Regions from separate parts of the Homo sapiens genome. Here regions 1, 3, 4 and 5 are each linked to region 2. Evidence: promoter capture Hi-C in human tissues and cell types (Jung and others, 2019). All regions are on one chromosome and are shown on one strand. Each heading gives the region's core, a stretch centred on a gene start or on the middle of the fragment in contact. The rest is flanking DNA. Distances are from core to core; before and after follow the strand shown. Region 1 has its middle 80 kb from the start of CYYR1. Region 2 holds the start of CYYR1 (cysteine and tyrosine rich 1). Region 3 overlaps CYYR1-AS1 (CYYR1 antisense RNA 1). Region 4 has its middle 120 kb from the start of CYYR1. Region 5 overlaps CYYR1 (cysteine and tyrosine rich 1).

Region 1 (2,845 bases), core at 60-2,559, 80 kb after region 2:
CATACTGGAGTAGGGTGGGCCCCTAATCCAAGATGACTGTTGCCTTTACAAAAAGGAGAAATTTGGACAAAGACATACACACAGGAAGAATGCCATGGGAAGATGAAGGCAGAGATGGAGATGATACAGCTACAAACCAAGGAATGTCAGGTTGCCTGCAAACCACCAGAAGCTAAGGCAGAGGCAAGGAACAGATTTCCCCTCACAGTCCTCAGAAGAACCAACCTGGCTGACCCTTCATCTTGGACTTCTGACCTCCAGAGCTGTTAGGCCATAAATTTCCGTTGTTTAAGCCTCCAAGTTTGTGGTATAGAATATGTTTGATATGACAGTTTAATATGGCAGCCTCAGGAAATTAATATATATGCAAAAAACCCCAAACAAAATCTCCCAAACAAAAAAACAAAACTGTCATTTGAAAAAGTGATCAGAAACAAATAAATTCATTAGCAGAGCATGCTAGGATTAGGTAAAGCACGAGTAGAACAAATAAGTATGTTAAGAGAGATAGTGACTAAAAAAAGGCTACAGTGGATGAAAAACTTTTTAAGAAATCCTTATTTTTAAAAACTAGGTGTTAAGGTTGCATGATAAAAGCAGTTTAAATTACCTTTGCTTGGCATGGTTTTTTGAATAAAGAGAGCTGTTAAAATATGGCATTGAGATATAAAGGGCATCACTTGAGCAAAAATGTGAAGCACAGAAATATAGTTTATTATTAATTGGGTTTTACTATTAGTATCTTGCATTTTTCTGGCTCAAAGACAGCAAGATACTACATTTCAAAAGGTTTAAACTTAGCTCAAAATAGCTTTAAATTGTAGCAAGAGGAGCTGTGTAATTCAAATTTTCTCTTTGTACTTGTCTCATCTTTAAGACTAATGGAATTGATTGGTGAATTATTATTAAAACATCCTTCAAGTTTGAGGCATTTCCCAGCGAGTTATTCAGAATGCTGATTGTTTTCCTTTTACCAGCTTTCATTTGTACTTTATGGGTCAGTGACTAAAATGTAGGATGCTCTCTAAGTCAGAGTGACTTCAATATAAAAGATGTTAGGGAAGCAAAATTGCATGCCAAGCAAATCTTTATCTTAATTAGCTGCTAGAACATGAAGAGTTTGCTTCTGTGCCTAAAACATATTACAGCTGCCTACTTATGTGAAGCCTTTATTGCACCACCCAACACAGATTTTTTTCCCCATAATCACTGAGATTTGAAATTTTAAAGGAGAAAAATAAATTCTTTTCTTGGATGCAGTATATTCTGCCGAAGAGTGAAGAAGCACGAACATTTCCAGTAGAACAAGATTTTCCTGCTTTTAAAAATACTACATTAAAGCTGAAAATTTAGGCCAAAATTTTCAAGTGGTAATAGTTACAGGCAATTCATCTTTCTGGTCAGAAAAGGGTGTTACTGCAGCTATTTCTGCCTGAAACTGGGTGGCACTACTACTTTTTTTTTTTTTTTTTTAACTGAGCAGACATTTTCCTTACACTAAAATTGAGAAAAAGAGAAATTTCTAAATTTCCATTGAACAGTTCCTTGCACATCATTTTAACTCTGTGAGACAGTGTCACATCGAAACGACACACTACATCACGAAGCTTTTCTAAATGACGGAGGTGGCTTGCAGCTGCTGACCTCACTTCTCTTGGACTTGGCAGCAATCCACACTGCCTTGATCATGGCAGTGAAAATAAGATAGTATTCAGTATTATTTGTCCAAATCTGGCGTATCATTGCTTGTGGATACATGAATGATCTTGGGACTTGAAAACATTGCTGATGGAAACTCAAACAAGATAAAGGGCTAATGACATTGATAGGAAACATAAGAAGAAAGTTATTCCATGACTTCATAAGAGTTGTCAGAATTTATTATGCATGTAACTACAGGGGAAGTGCAAAGAGAAGTTGTTTCAGAAATTGATGTAAGGGTAGGACAATACATTGTGCAAGTTGACTCTCAATGAGACTATTTGTAGCATCCCACTTTTGGAATGCCATATTCTAGAGCTCAAATTGGACTGAAAGATCTGTCCTGGTGTGCCTGCCCTGTTGTTTCACATGGTTACGATTTTCAGGTGTAGTGATTGTGTGGATTATTTTCTATTTAATCCTTCTAGACCCACTTTTTACCCATTCCCATCCTGCTTTATGTCCCAGCATGCTGCTACATCATGGATTTCTTATCCTCTGGATTCTGGAGCAGAAGATGGAAGAGTGAGATTAAGATTGACAGTTGACCCTTGAACAACACAGATTTGAAGGGTGCAGGTCTCTGTCCACTTATATGTGGATATTTTTCTTTTTGTATATATTTTTTATTATACTTTAAGTTCTAGGGTACACGTGCACAACGTGCAGTTTTGTTACATATGTATACATGTGCCATGTTGGTTTGCTGCACCCATTAACTCGTCATTTATATTAGGTATATCTCCTAATGCTATCCCTCCCCCCTCCCCCCACCCCACAACAGGCCCTGGTGTGTGATGTTCCCTTTCCTGTGTCCAAGTGTTCTCATTGTTCAATTCTCACCTATGAGTGAGAACGTGCAGTGTTTGGTTTTTTGTCCTTGTGATAGTTTGCTGAGAATGATGGTTTCCAACTTCATCCATATCCCTACAAAGGACATGAACTCATTTTTTATGGCTGCATAGTATTCCATGGTGTATATGTGCCACATTTTCTTAATCCAGTCTATCATTGTTGGACATTGGGTTGGATCCAAGTCTTTGCTATTGTGAATAGTGCCACAGTAAACATACGTGTGCGTGTGTCTTTATAGCAGCATGATTTATAATCCTTTGGGTACATACCCAGTAATGGGATTGCTGGG
Region 2 (2,782 bases), core at 83-2,582:
CAATTCTTTTAATACTCAGGTGCAACACTGAAGAACATCATTTCAGTTGCAATATCTTTTTGAGTATCAAAGGTAAATTTCAGTGCTATATATACATTTCGTATTGGAGGCTCAGGGGTGAGCCTGCGATTTTTGTCATAGGACGTTAGAGACACAAAAACATTTTACAAAGAACTTTGCTTTTAGCTTGCATTGTTTTGTGAATATGAACTGATGCAAAGACCACGTGTGTAAGACACTTTATACCTGAATAACCAATGAAAGGCCATTTGGGGCTCCATATTAATCACAAACAAGAAAACCCACTTTGCTTCGTTAATTATTAGCAGTTCTTACTACGAATAATTAGAAGGGAAACCAGATGCCCTTCTCTTATAAACAAGTGTCTATCTAAATCAACGAACCTGTACAGATTAGACCCTGGGTGAATTCATGCTTCTCAAAAACCTTGTGTTTGACTTCAGTCCAATAGCTCAGTCTACCACACTTGTGAATCTCCCAAAGAACGAAAACAAAGCTCTAAGTTTTTTTTATTCACAAGAGGGAAAACCAGGACTATTTAGAAAGCAGAAGATGGAGAGGCCACTGCCTAGCCTATCCAGATAAGTTTATTTGGATATAGTTTACTCTATCCAGAGAGTCAAATCCCCTAAACACGAGACTGCTATTTCCAAGGTGGAAAGGGAAAGAAAAGAAATGCAAAAGGTAAAAGTTAAAGGAAAAGGAACAAAACAAAACCGCGTGCGGCTGGAAGTGCGCGGGTTTCTGCCGTCGCCTCGCGGAAAAGGCAGAAGCGTCTGCAAAGGTCCTTCTGCAAAGGTCCCGGTCCGTCCAGCTCAACCCACGTTAGCCCGGACCGTGACCCAAGGGCAGCCCCGAGCCTCTGACCCTCTCCGCCGCCCTCCGTCACTGACCTGCGTAGACAAAGAGCAGGACCAACTTCGGAAGCAAGACCCCTGGACGCACGGGTAGCCTCGGAGCGTCCATCCAAGCCGGTGGCCTGAGGCTTGGAGCGAAGGGAGAGCCCGGAACCGGAGGGAATGGGGAGGATGGAGGGCGATCAGATGGAGAGAGCAGCGCTCCTGAGAGCCGGGTGGAGCAGAGACCCGGCCATTGCCTAGGGAGCCTTCCAAGGGAGCCCGGGCCGGGCGCGTCCCGGGCCAGCGACTGCGGGACTCCGCGGAGCTGGGGCGCCCGTGGCCCGAGACGGGCTGCGCTGGGGGCCCAGGTCTCTTTGTCTCGCCCCACTGCGCTCAGGCGCGGGGAAGGCGGCCACTCCGGCGTCCTTGGCCACCCAGGCTCACATTTCATCTCCGCGGGTGGCAACGACTGCGGGCAGGGGGCGGGGGTGGCCCCGACTCCTCCCCAAGCCCGGGTTCTTCCTTCTAAAGAGTGACTAGGGGACCAAGAAACTTTTCCTAACCCCTTGCTTTGGCGATTGCTATGGAGTTCAGCCTGCTCCTTTTTAACCTTGCCTCCACTACAATTTTTCCTTTCTAAGCAATGGATGAACAACTTTGCTTTTTATCTTTAAACAAAGGGAAGGAATTTTCAGGGTTGAAGGTATTCGACAAAGAGTGACAGTGAAGAAAACTCAGGATTGGGAAGTACAGAAAGTGTATGGCATCTCTGCTGAAAGCTGATAAAATGTTTATTATTTTTTCCTGTAAATTCAGAAAAAAAAAACACAACAGTGCACACTGTCGTTATGATTTTGACGTTTTGGAGTTACTGGCCTATGCAATTAAACAAGAGAAAGAAAAAGATTTATGAAAAATGAAAGCTAAATTGTCATTAGCAAATGAAATACGTGTATACATGGAAAATCAAAGTTAATCAACTATAAAGCTCTTGTTTAGCAAACCAATAGTTTTCTTTCCTGCAAACAAAAATCAGAAAGTTCTCAATGTTATGCATGAAGGAAAAAAAATGATACGAATAAGTAAAGAGATACTTTTTTCACTAAGAAAATTTAGTAGGATAAAGACAACAAGATTCCCCAAATTATTATATACATTTGGAAATAAAATTGATCCCAATTTTTAAAATAACATGATTTTTTTCAAACCAATCTGATTCTAAAGTTTATATGGAAAATAAATATGTAAGAATATCTATTTAAAACAAGAGTAATGAATGGGAATAATGAATGGGATATTACATATAATATCACAATAATTAAAACAGTTTAGATTAACATTGGAATAGATAGGCTTAGTGAAAGAGAAAAGGTAACCCAAAAGTAGACATGAGTATGTACAGCAATTTAATTTATGGTTTAAAGAAATATCAATGTAAAGTAGTAGGGGAAATGATGAGTTACTCAGTGAAAAGTGTTGAGGCCGTAAATAGCCATCTGTGGAGCCTTATCTTTTTACATCAAAATCAGTTCTATATGAATTACATATTTAAGATACAACTATGAAAATATTAGATTAAAAAATAAGAGGATAACATTCAAATAATTGTGGAATAGGGAAGCCTTTTCTAAGCATTATAAAAAACTCAGAAACCATAAAACAAAATATTGACCAACTTGACTAAATAAGAATTAATACTTCCAGTTGGCAGACATTTAACTGGCAAAAATATTTGCAATGCAAAGTCCTAATCTCATTATTATACTGAGCTTAAAAAAATCAATAGGAAAAACAACCAAGAGATAACTGAGGAAGGATATTAATAGACACTTCATACAAAACAAATAAATATAAATATAGAAATAAAATTGACAGTGAGACATCACTTTTCATGTATCAAACCAACCAAATACAAAACCAAA
Region 3 (2,700 bases), core at 62-2,561, 130 kb before region 2:
TTGGTATGAGTATGCATAGCACCATGAGCGTTAAAGAGGGGGTAGGAAACTGTTACTGATGCTGAAATTCTAGCACAGATTCAAATTTTCATACATTTCTGATTCTAGAAAGCGACTCATTTTGAAAATATTTACTCCATGGACTGACATTTCTTAGTAGTTGCTAGTAGGATTTTTTTTTATTGTCGTAAAATATGCATAACAAAAAATGTACCATTTTAATCGTTTTTAAGTATGTGAATTCAGTAGTATTAAGTCTATTCACATTGTTGTGCAAATTAACGGGCTTTGGTTGGAGAAAATTGTGGTAGAAATTTTCAAATTTTGGTCATGTTGAAAGTTGCTGGTTTATACTTTTTTTTTTACTTATGTCCTGATATATCAAAAAATGTATGACTGATTTCTTTTTGTAAACTTGCCTTCTGCTGATGCCTTGTCATGAAAACTAGTGATGATTATTACATCTGGAATTCTACACCTGTGGAAATGGCTAAAAAATTCTAGGAGCAAACATAATTTAAAATGGCCATTTTTTTAACTCATTATTTTGAGACGTGCCAATTTGTGAAGTATCTGGACATGCATTGTTGGTATTGTGAATAACTTGGACAAAACCAAATTGTGCAAAAGTCTTTCTCCTAAGCACGAAGAATGTTGGGTTGATCCACAACGGAGTTAGCCTTGGATAAGCTCGTCACAAAGTACTGTCCAACTTCAGATTGTACCACTGACAAATTGATGACAATTAATAAGAATAGGATGGGTCTTTTGACATAATCCTTAGAAAAAAATATATCTTTGGACCTTTTACTCAGGTGTCTGCTCATGCAGACACCGTTTTTCTTTTTAAAATTCACTATTCCTTAAAATACACCCTGAAAAAATACCTAGTTTCCAATAGCTATTTCTAATGAATACTAAATACTAGAATACTGAATTCTAGGACATTAAAACATTTCCTCTCAAGAAGCATTTGAGCCTTCCTCTTTTTAGTATAGATGGAAGCTTCTCTCTAATGGTGCCACATTGCACATTTGCAAACCTATGTTTCAGCAATGTCACATCTGTGATTGTTGGTACACACACCACACACACACACACATTCAAATCGCTGAAGTGGATTCAAAGAACCAATGGCCTTTAGGTCAAGGTTTCTAAAGCATCTTGTCCCAGGAATTTTAAGCATCTTGTCTCAGGAATTTTACATGTGAAAAAATTTACTCATCTCACACGTTCATGTTAGCAGTCTAATCTTCTAAGACCTCTGCAGGAAATAACTTACTACTATGTTTTGTGAACGTGAAGACTTTCTGAAAGAATCCATGCATGGCATTTTTGACTTTGCAAATAGAACATAATTCTTCAATGGCATGTCTGAACTAATCTGAGGATGTTAGCCTGAGGTTTCCTGTGTTTTATCAAGAGCAAAAAGAATATAGTTCACATTATGACAAGCATAGATATTAGCAGTGTCCAAGTTATTTTTGTGTTGTGTCCTCTTGGATTAGAATATTTATTCTGGTCATTGAAATATCAATAAATTCAGTCAAGAAAAATAATTAGAAGAATTTATTGTAACTGTATATATAATGCTTAAGGCAGTGTTTGTCAGCTTGACCCTATTGACATTTTGGGCCAGATTATTTTTTATTGTGGGAGCTGTCGGATCTTTAGCAGGATTCTCATGTCTACCGGCTAGACGCTGATATTTTCTCCCCAAGTTGAGACAACCAGAAATGCCCCCTGGACATCGCCAAACATCCTTTGGAAAGCAAAACACACACATTTTAGAATCACTAGCTTAAAGGAATATACACTGAGAAACATTGACTTAAGGCATGCTTTCTAGTCTCAGTATCAGCTGCAAAAATCGATGACGTACCCTGGGAATGAGGGGCTGTACCCCTGTTGAAATATGAGAATAATTTCTTACCATTTACCAGTTAGGTGCTATACTCAGTCCTCCAGATTCTTCTCCTACTCTACCCTGGCTCCTCCCCAGGGACCATTTTCCACCTCCCAACTATGCAGAAACTCCAGGACTAAGTCTGACGTGGCAAGGGGCCTCCAGAGTCTGTTAAACTTTCTATTACATTTTATCGTCTTACTCTGTATTAATTTTATTATTTATATTAACTCATTTTACTATCACCTTTTCAGACAAGCTAGAAGAACCTGTATTTATTGTGCCTCTCTATTCACAGTGGAGTCCTTGAGCAGAAAGTCAGATTACTCCCTTTTAGTTTGTTGTCTTTAATAGACAAATGAGAGTTGTTTCCCTGTTCCACACATCATCCCTCTTCTAAAATGACTGAGCATTCCTTACCACTGAACACATGTTGAAACATATCTGGCTTGCGTTTCCTTTTTAGAAGGGCTTGTTGTGAGAATCAATGGAAAAGTACCCAGAGAGAAATTGCTACACAAACTTACAATGTAAAAATAGCTCCAGCGGAGAGGATAACAAAAGCTTTGTCAAATTGCACATAATAGAGTCAATGATAGGCAGACGGTGCTTGGAACTGGTCCTCCTGATACTTCAGTCGTTCATTGGCAGGCTGCTCATGCTCCTTCACAGATTTAGAGATACTGAGGAATTTACTGCACAGTACCGTAGATCACAGCCTAAATCCTTATTTGTGGGGTTATGAGCATTTAAATATTTTCTTGTGGGTTCCGTGGATTTCACAGAATTCTGTT
Region 4 (2,771 bases), core at 167-2,666, 120 kb after region 2:
GGTAACTACTTTCTGACATGAAACTATAAGTGCAAAATTTTGATATAGATACTTAGAATTTGCCTTAGTTGTGAAGTAGCCTGTAATGTAAAGCATTTCTCTGAGAAACAAAAGTGGATTTTTCCTCTTAGTCAGAGTTTCTTGAAACCCACATGTGAAAGATGCCTTGATATAAAACATGTATGTTTTAACTTTGGGCTCAGTTTTGCAGGAATGTATCTGAGATGGAAAACCAGATGGCTATATTTCAATGTATTTTCTCTTCCATTTTATGGAAAATGACCCATGATCTATTTTGGCTTACATGAGATTTACTCATAAATATATATGAGTATAATGCCTTGCAGCTCCTGTTTAATGCATTTATGAAAAATTTTTCACTTTCTGGGAAGCTTTTCATTCAGGGCAGCTGCCTGGAAACACTTATGATCTCTGAGGAGAAGCTTTGAACGTGCACAGGCATTTTTAAAAATGGTATGTTGTTAGGCAACTAAAAATCACAAGCTCAACATGGTAGCATTATCTTTTTGTCAGAGGTGTGAACTGGCTCTTCCATAATCAGGCTTTCAACACTTGGAAAGTTTTTTTCTGAGTACGTATTTCCTCATCTGTAAAATAGGCGGGTTCTGTTCTGATTTCATCAAGTTATGATAAAAGAAAAGCACAGTAGGTAGGTATGATAAAAGAAAAGCACAGTAGGTAAATAATCAATTATAGTGACATTTCTTCCTCTTCACTCCTTTTGCTACCCAAGTGACGTATCATACAGCAAGCTAACACTTGGTAGAATGCCAATTTAGTATGATACTGGTTTCCAGTTAATTTAGGACTATAAAAAGTGCTGGCAATGCCCAACTCAAACTTACGTTTGAATTGGCTTTTTAAATTGCTATATGTCATAAAGACCAGTTGATAGGCTGGGCATAGTGGCTCATACCTGTAATCCCAGCACTTTGAGAGGCCAAGGAGGGCGGATCAAAAGGTCAGGAGTTCAAGAGCAGCCTGGCCAACATGGTGAAATCCTGTCTCTACTAAAAATACAAATATCAGCCAGGCATGGTGGCACATACCTGTAATCTCAGCTACTTGGGAGGCTGAGGCAGGAGAATTGCTTGAACTCAGGAGGTGGAGGTTGCACTGAGCCGGGATCAAGCCACTGCACTCCAGCCTGGATGACAGAGCAAGACTCTGTCTTAAAAAAAAAAAAAAAAAAAAAAAAAAGAAACAGTTGACAAAAGAACCTAAAATTATAATTTAGAGTTCTTGAGATTATTTAACTGTAACTTATGGTAATTCAACTGGCCATAGTGACTATTCGTATGATGAAAGAGTATGTGATGAGCAACAATGAAATGAGATAGGTCCAACAGAGCTTTTCCAGGTGCAGATGCTCCCAGCCACGGACAGTCTGGCTGGTAGGCAAACATGGAATCCAGGGACTTCAAGCATCTCCACTCAGATCCATTTTGGAGGAGGCAAAATGAAGTACCAGATGTTTGGGGGCAGATAAGTTCCAAAGAAAATGATTACTGAGAGTCAGTTAACCAGGCTGTCAGCTTCTGCAAACTCTATCATAAGTCAGTTGACTCCAGACTGCAAACTGGTGCTTAGGAATACCAATGATTGCCTCTAAAGGCAGAAATTAAATGCTTTGTACTGGACATTGCCAACCTTAAGTTCCCTGGTGCACTTGGGTACCACCATCCGGATGCTCTGAGTGTGAGGTGCCAAAGTGCCCTTGTATTTTCTGTAGTTCTCAATGGTTAGATGTCACACTCGGTTCCCTGAAGAAAATGTCTCTCTCCCAGTCCTGTGGGCATCTTATCAATTTATCATCATCAAGATTCAGCCTCAAGTTTCTTCCCATCTAAGGGGCCTGTTTAGAGCCTCTAAGCTTTCTGCTTTCAGAAAGCTACATATTCACTAGAGAGAATGGGTATCTATTCTGAATTTTCTCTAGTATGACGAGATTACTGTCTTATATTGTTCTTCATTTCTTCCTAAGTGTCAGTCTTATCTCCCCAAGGAGATTGTAAGCGCCTTGGAGGCAGGGATCATGTTTTATATTCCTGGGGCCTCACATCCTTTGAATATACAATTGAGCAGATATTAAGAGATACTTAGTAATGGATTTATTGAACTTGAAATCTGAAACTGCTAATTCTAGAATTATTACCATACATTTGTGTATTTTTGGGGATTTTGCATAAAAATACTGTAGGTAGCTATATTCTTTTCACCTGCTCCCATAAACTATCAAAGTTTATGTCTCACGTATTTAGTTCTATCAGATATTGAGTTAATCACTTTTTTAGGAAGAAAGATTTTGGAGAAAGAAAGTTGGCTTCTTTACTCCATCTTCCTACTTTATATATTTGGAATTTTTCATTAGACATGACTAAAGAAGTAGAAGGAGAAACAAAGATCTAACTTTTAAATTATTCACTAGGCCTGCACAGGTTTGGTATGCAGATTAGCTCAACAGATAGAGGTAGATCAACATGGCAAATTAAAAATAATATCTAAGGTTTAATTCACACGTTGTATGACAGTCTCACTCTTCTATGTCAACCATGGACCTATACCTTAGAATTTATTGTCTCCGCTCTTCCAAATTCTGTTCCTTCCAAATCCTTGGCCAGACATCCAGGACATTGGCCACTGAATGGAAATCTGTACATATTATCACTTTGGGCTACTTCTCTTTCCACAAAAAGTGAATGCTTAAGTTCACTGCTCATAGCTCTGCCCATTGGAAAGAATTTCCCTTT
Region 5 (2,700 bases), core at 88-2,587, 86 kb before region 2:
GAATCCATTCCAGTTTCTGCATGTATCAGTAGTTCATTCCTAGATGAGCAAGCAGTCCATGATATGGCTATAACACACTTTGTTTAACCATTATTTATTGTAGGGCATTTTGGTTTGACAAATAAAGTTGCTATAAACAATCATGTACAGATTTTTGTGTGGACATAAGTATTCATTTCTCTGCAATAAATGCCCAGAAGTGCAATTACTGGGATGTACGATAAATGTATGTTTGAGTTTTAAAGAAACTTCCAAGTTATTTACATTCCTACCAGCAAGGTATGAGAGATCCTCTCTGCGTCCTTGCCAGTATCTAGTTTTATAATCTGTTTTTTAGCTGTTTTAACGGATAAAGCATTAAGTGTAGTGGTATTTCATCATGGCCTTAATTTGCATTCCCGTAATGGCTAGCAAGGTTGAACATGTTTTCGAAAGCTTATTTGCCATTCATCTTCTTCAGTGAAATGTCCACCTGAGTCTTTTGCCCATATTCTAATTGGATTGCTTGGTTATTTTACTGTTGAGTTTTTGAGAATTATTTGAGTCCTTTACAAAATATGTAGTTTGCGAATATTTTTACTGGTCTGTAGCACATCTTTTCATTCTCCCAACAGGGTCGTTCACAGAACAAAAGTTTTTAAATAAAGTCCAATCTATCATTTTTTTTCTTTTATGGATTGTGCTTTGGGGTCATACGTGGGAACTTTTCATGAAGCCCTAGGTCCTGAAGACTTTCTCCTATGCTTCTTTCTAAAAGACTGATTATTTTACATTTGATATTTAAACCTATGATCTATTTTTGTTTAATTTCTGTACGAGGTATTAGATTTAGGTTGAGGTTCATTATTACCAGATTATTTTGCCTGTGGATAGCCAGCTACTTCAGTACCATTTATTAAAAGCATTCCTCATCCCCCCATCGCATTGCTTTTGCACCTTTGTCAAAAATCAGTTGGCCTGTGCAGGACTGTTTCTAGGTTCTAATTTAGCTAATTTTTTTTTCTTTTTTTGCAAAATGAGATTTTATAATCAAGATATTAAATGTATCTATGGTGGCTGAAATAATATGAAACTGTCTTTTATAACAAAGCTCAGAGATAATATATTTTATTCCATAAATCGCTTTTCATGAGTAAAAAAAGATTCTGATAATGTTGCCATGTTGCAGTAACACTTTTAGGCTTAGCACTGCTATACAGCAGCTTACTAGTTATCTTGATGTGGTTTTACTATTAATATTAAATAATATTTAAGGAAAATAGCAGATATGAAAAGTACGCCAGAGTAATATTTATCTTCTTCTCGGATACGACCCAATTTACAAATGCATTTTATAAAACTATAAATCAAAGGGCTTATGAATATTCTATGTAATAATTTAGTAACAGCAGTCCCAATAAAGTAGAAAAATTAAAAAGGCCATGCGGATATTTGATATCTATATTTGATACCACACGGATATTTTACACCTATACAAAAAGTGGGGAAAATTCTAGAATATTTTTGTTAGGATAAACTTCCATATGGAAATAAGAGTTTGAAATAAAATACCTTTACCTTTGAAATAAGTCAAAGGTAAAAGTATCAGAAGAGAGAGTTCTCTGGAAAAAGTAACCATAGCTTCAAAAGAATAAACTTAAAGTAGGTTTATTTCTTATTAAAATAAAAAAATTATAAGTGAAGCTAAAGCATTTTTATCTTTTGTTAAAGAAGGTAATATTTAGTCGACTTATTTATTTGTGATGATACACATGAGATGAATTAAGCAATGATAAAAATCCTATTCCTACTACAGCGCTGAAAGTCGACTACATACATGAGAATAAATCTTGGCAAAATTCTATATCAGATCATCCTACTTCCTCAATAATTCATTCTTTTGGCCAATTCATTAAAATACTGTAATACCCTTGAATACAATGTTTTATTATAAATCATTGGCAATTTTAGTAACACTTTGACTTGCTTAACTTAAAAATAATGCATTTTCTTCTCTGTTGCTTAAATAAATACAGAAAATAATAGAAAAACAAACTCAATGGAGTATCATTTTCAATATTAACAGTATTTACTTATATTAATCGTAGGATCTCAGAACTATCTCTATTTCTATTTTTATCTCTATGAGTCTGGTTACATGTACATCTATGTATACGTGTATCAGATAAGAAAACCATAATATCGAATAGTTAAATTGTTATTAAATATTGTTACTACTCCAAGTGTAAAATGCTTAGGAGGGTAGGAAGACCAATCCATGTAATTTTTCCAGTAAGTCTACATTACTTGCAAAAAAAAAAAAAAATCTGTAAAATCCAAATATGCTAATAATGTTTTTTTATTTTGCTTTTTTTTTTTCTTTCATTCTGGTGACTCCCCTTAATAACTTCACTCAATATATCCTCTTTCTTGGGGCTTTATAGATAACTTCTTTCTGTTAGCCTCATGATAATAAAACTGGAAACTAATATCTCTTTGAATGAATAAATTTACGTGATTTATTGACTCAAGCCCCATGACAGAGACAATTGTGTAACCCAATATTCATTTTCTACATTTTCCTTGATAAAAGAAGTCTGAGGGTTGACTAAAATAAAGACTACATCTTCCCCTACTTCCTTCCTTCCTTCCTTCCTTCCTTCCTTCCTTCCTTCCTTCCAGACAAGGTCTAACTGCGTCACCCAGGCTGGAGTGCAGTGG

What was found. Contacts are between HindIII fragments. The study calls those that stand out against the background at their distance.
Region 1: a contact is called between a fragment that was not itself captured here and the fragment with the promoter of CYYR1 in region 2, in 2 of the 25 tissues and cell types used here (H1 embryonic stem cells and aorta).
Region 3: a fragment that was not itself captured here is called in contact with the fragment with the promoter of CYYR1 in region 2 in 3 of the 25 tissues and cell types used here (dorsolateral prefrontal cortex, mesendoderm cells and spleen).
Region 4: a contact is called between a fragment that was not itself captured here and the fragment with the promoter of CYYR1 in region 2, in 2 of the 25 tissues and cell types used here (aorta and dorsolateral prefrontal cortex).
Region 5: a fragment that was not itself captured here is called in contact with the fragment with the promoter of CYYR1 in region 2 in 2 of the 25 tissues and cell types used here (H1 embryonic stem cells and mesendoderm cells).

The regions. Positions count from the first base shown.
Region 1 is chr21:26,651,990-26,654,834 of GRCh38, forward strand. No RefSeq gene overlaps it. Among named protein-coding and RNA genes, the nearest start is that of CYYR1, 80 kb to the left of the region's middle. The HindIII fragment of the contact is 3,126 bases long and covers 1-2,845 here.
Region 2 is chr21:26,571,954-26,574,735 of GRCh38, forward strand. It overlaps CYYR1 (cysteine and tyrosine rich 1), which reads right to left and starts at 1,333. Exons shown (of 4, transcript NM_001320768.2): 1 at 915-1,333. The coding sequence starts at 987. The HindIII fragment of the contact is 7,865 bases long and covers 1-2,782 here.
Region 3 is chr21:26,446,940-26,449,639 of GRCh38, forward strand. All of the region lies in intron 1 of CYYR1-AS1 (CYYR1 antisense RNA 1), which reads left to right. Among named protein-coding and RNA genes, the nearest start is that of CYYR1-AS1, 42 kb to the left of the region's middle. The HindIII fragment of the contact is 3,875 bases long and covers 1-2,700 here.
Region 4 is chr21:26,693,856-26,696,626 of GRCh38, forward strand. No RefSeq gene overlaps it. Among named protein-coding and RNA genes, the nearest start is that of CYYR1, 120 kb to the left of the region's middle. The HindIII fragment of the contact is 5,627 bases long and covers 1-2,771 here.
Region 5 is chr21:26,485,627-26,488,326 of GRCh38, forward strand. All of the region lies in intron 2 of CYYR1 (cysteine and tyrosine rich 1), which reads right to left. The region is part of intron 1 of CYYR1-AS1 (CYYR1 antisense RNA 1); the gene reads left to right. Among named protein-coding and RNA genes, the nearest start is that of CYYR1-AS1, 81 kb to the left of the region's middle. The HindIII fragment of the contact is 7,460 bases long and covers 1-2,700 here.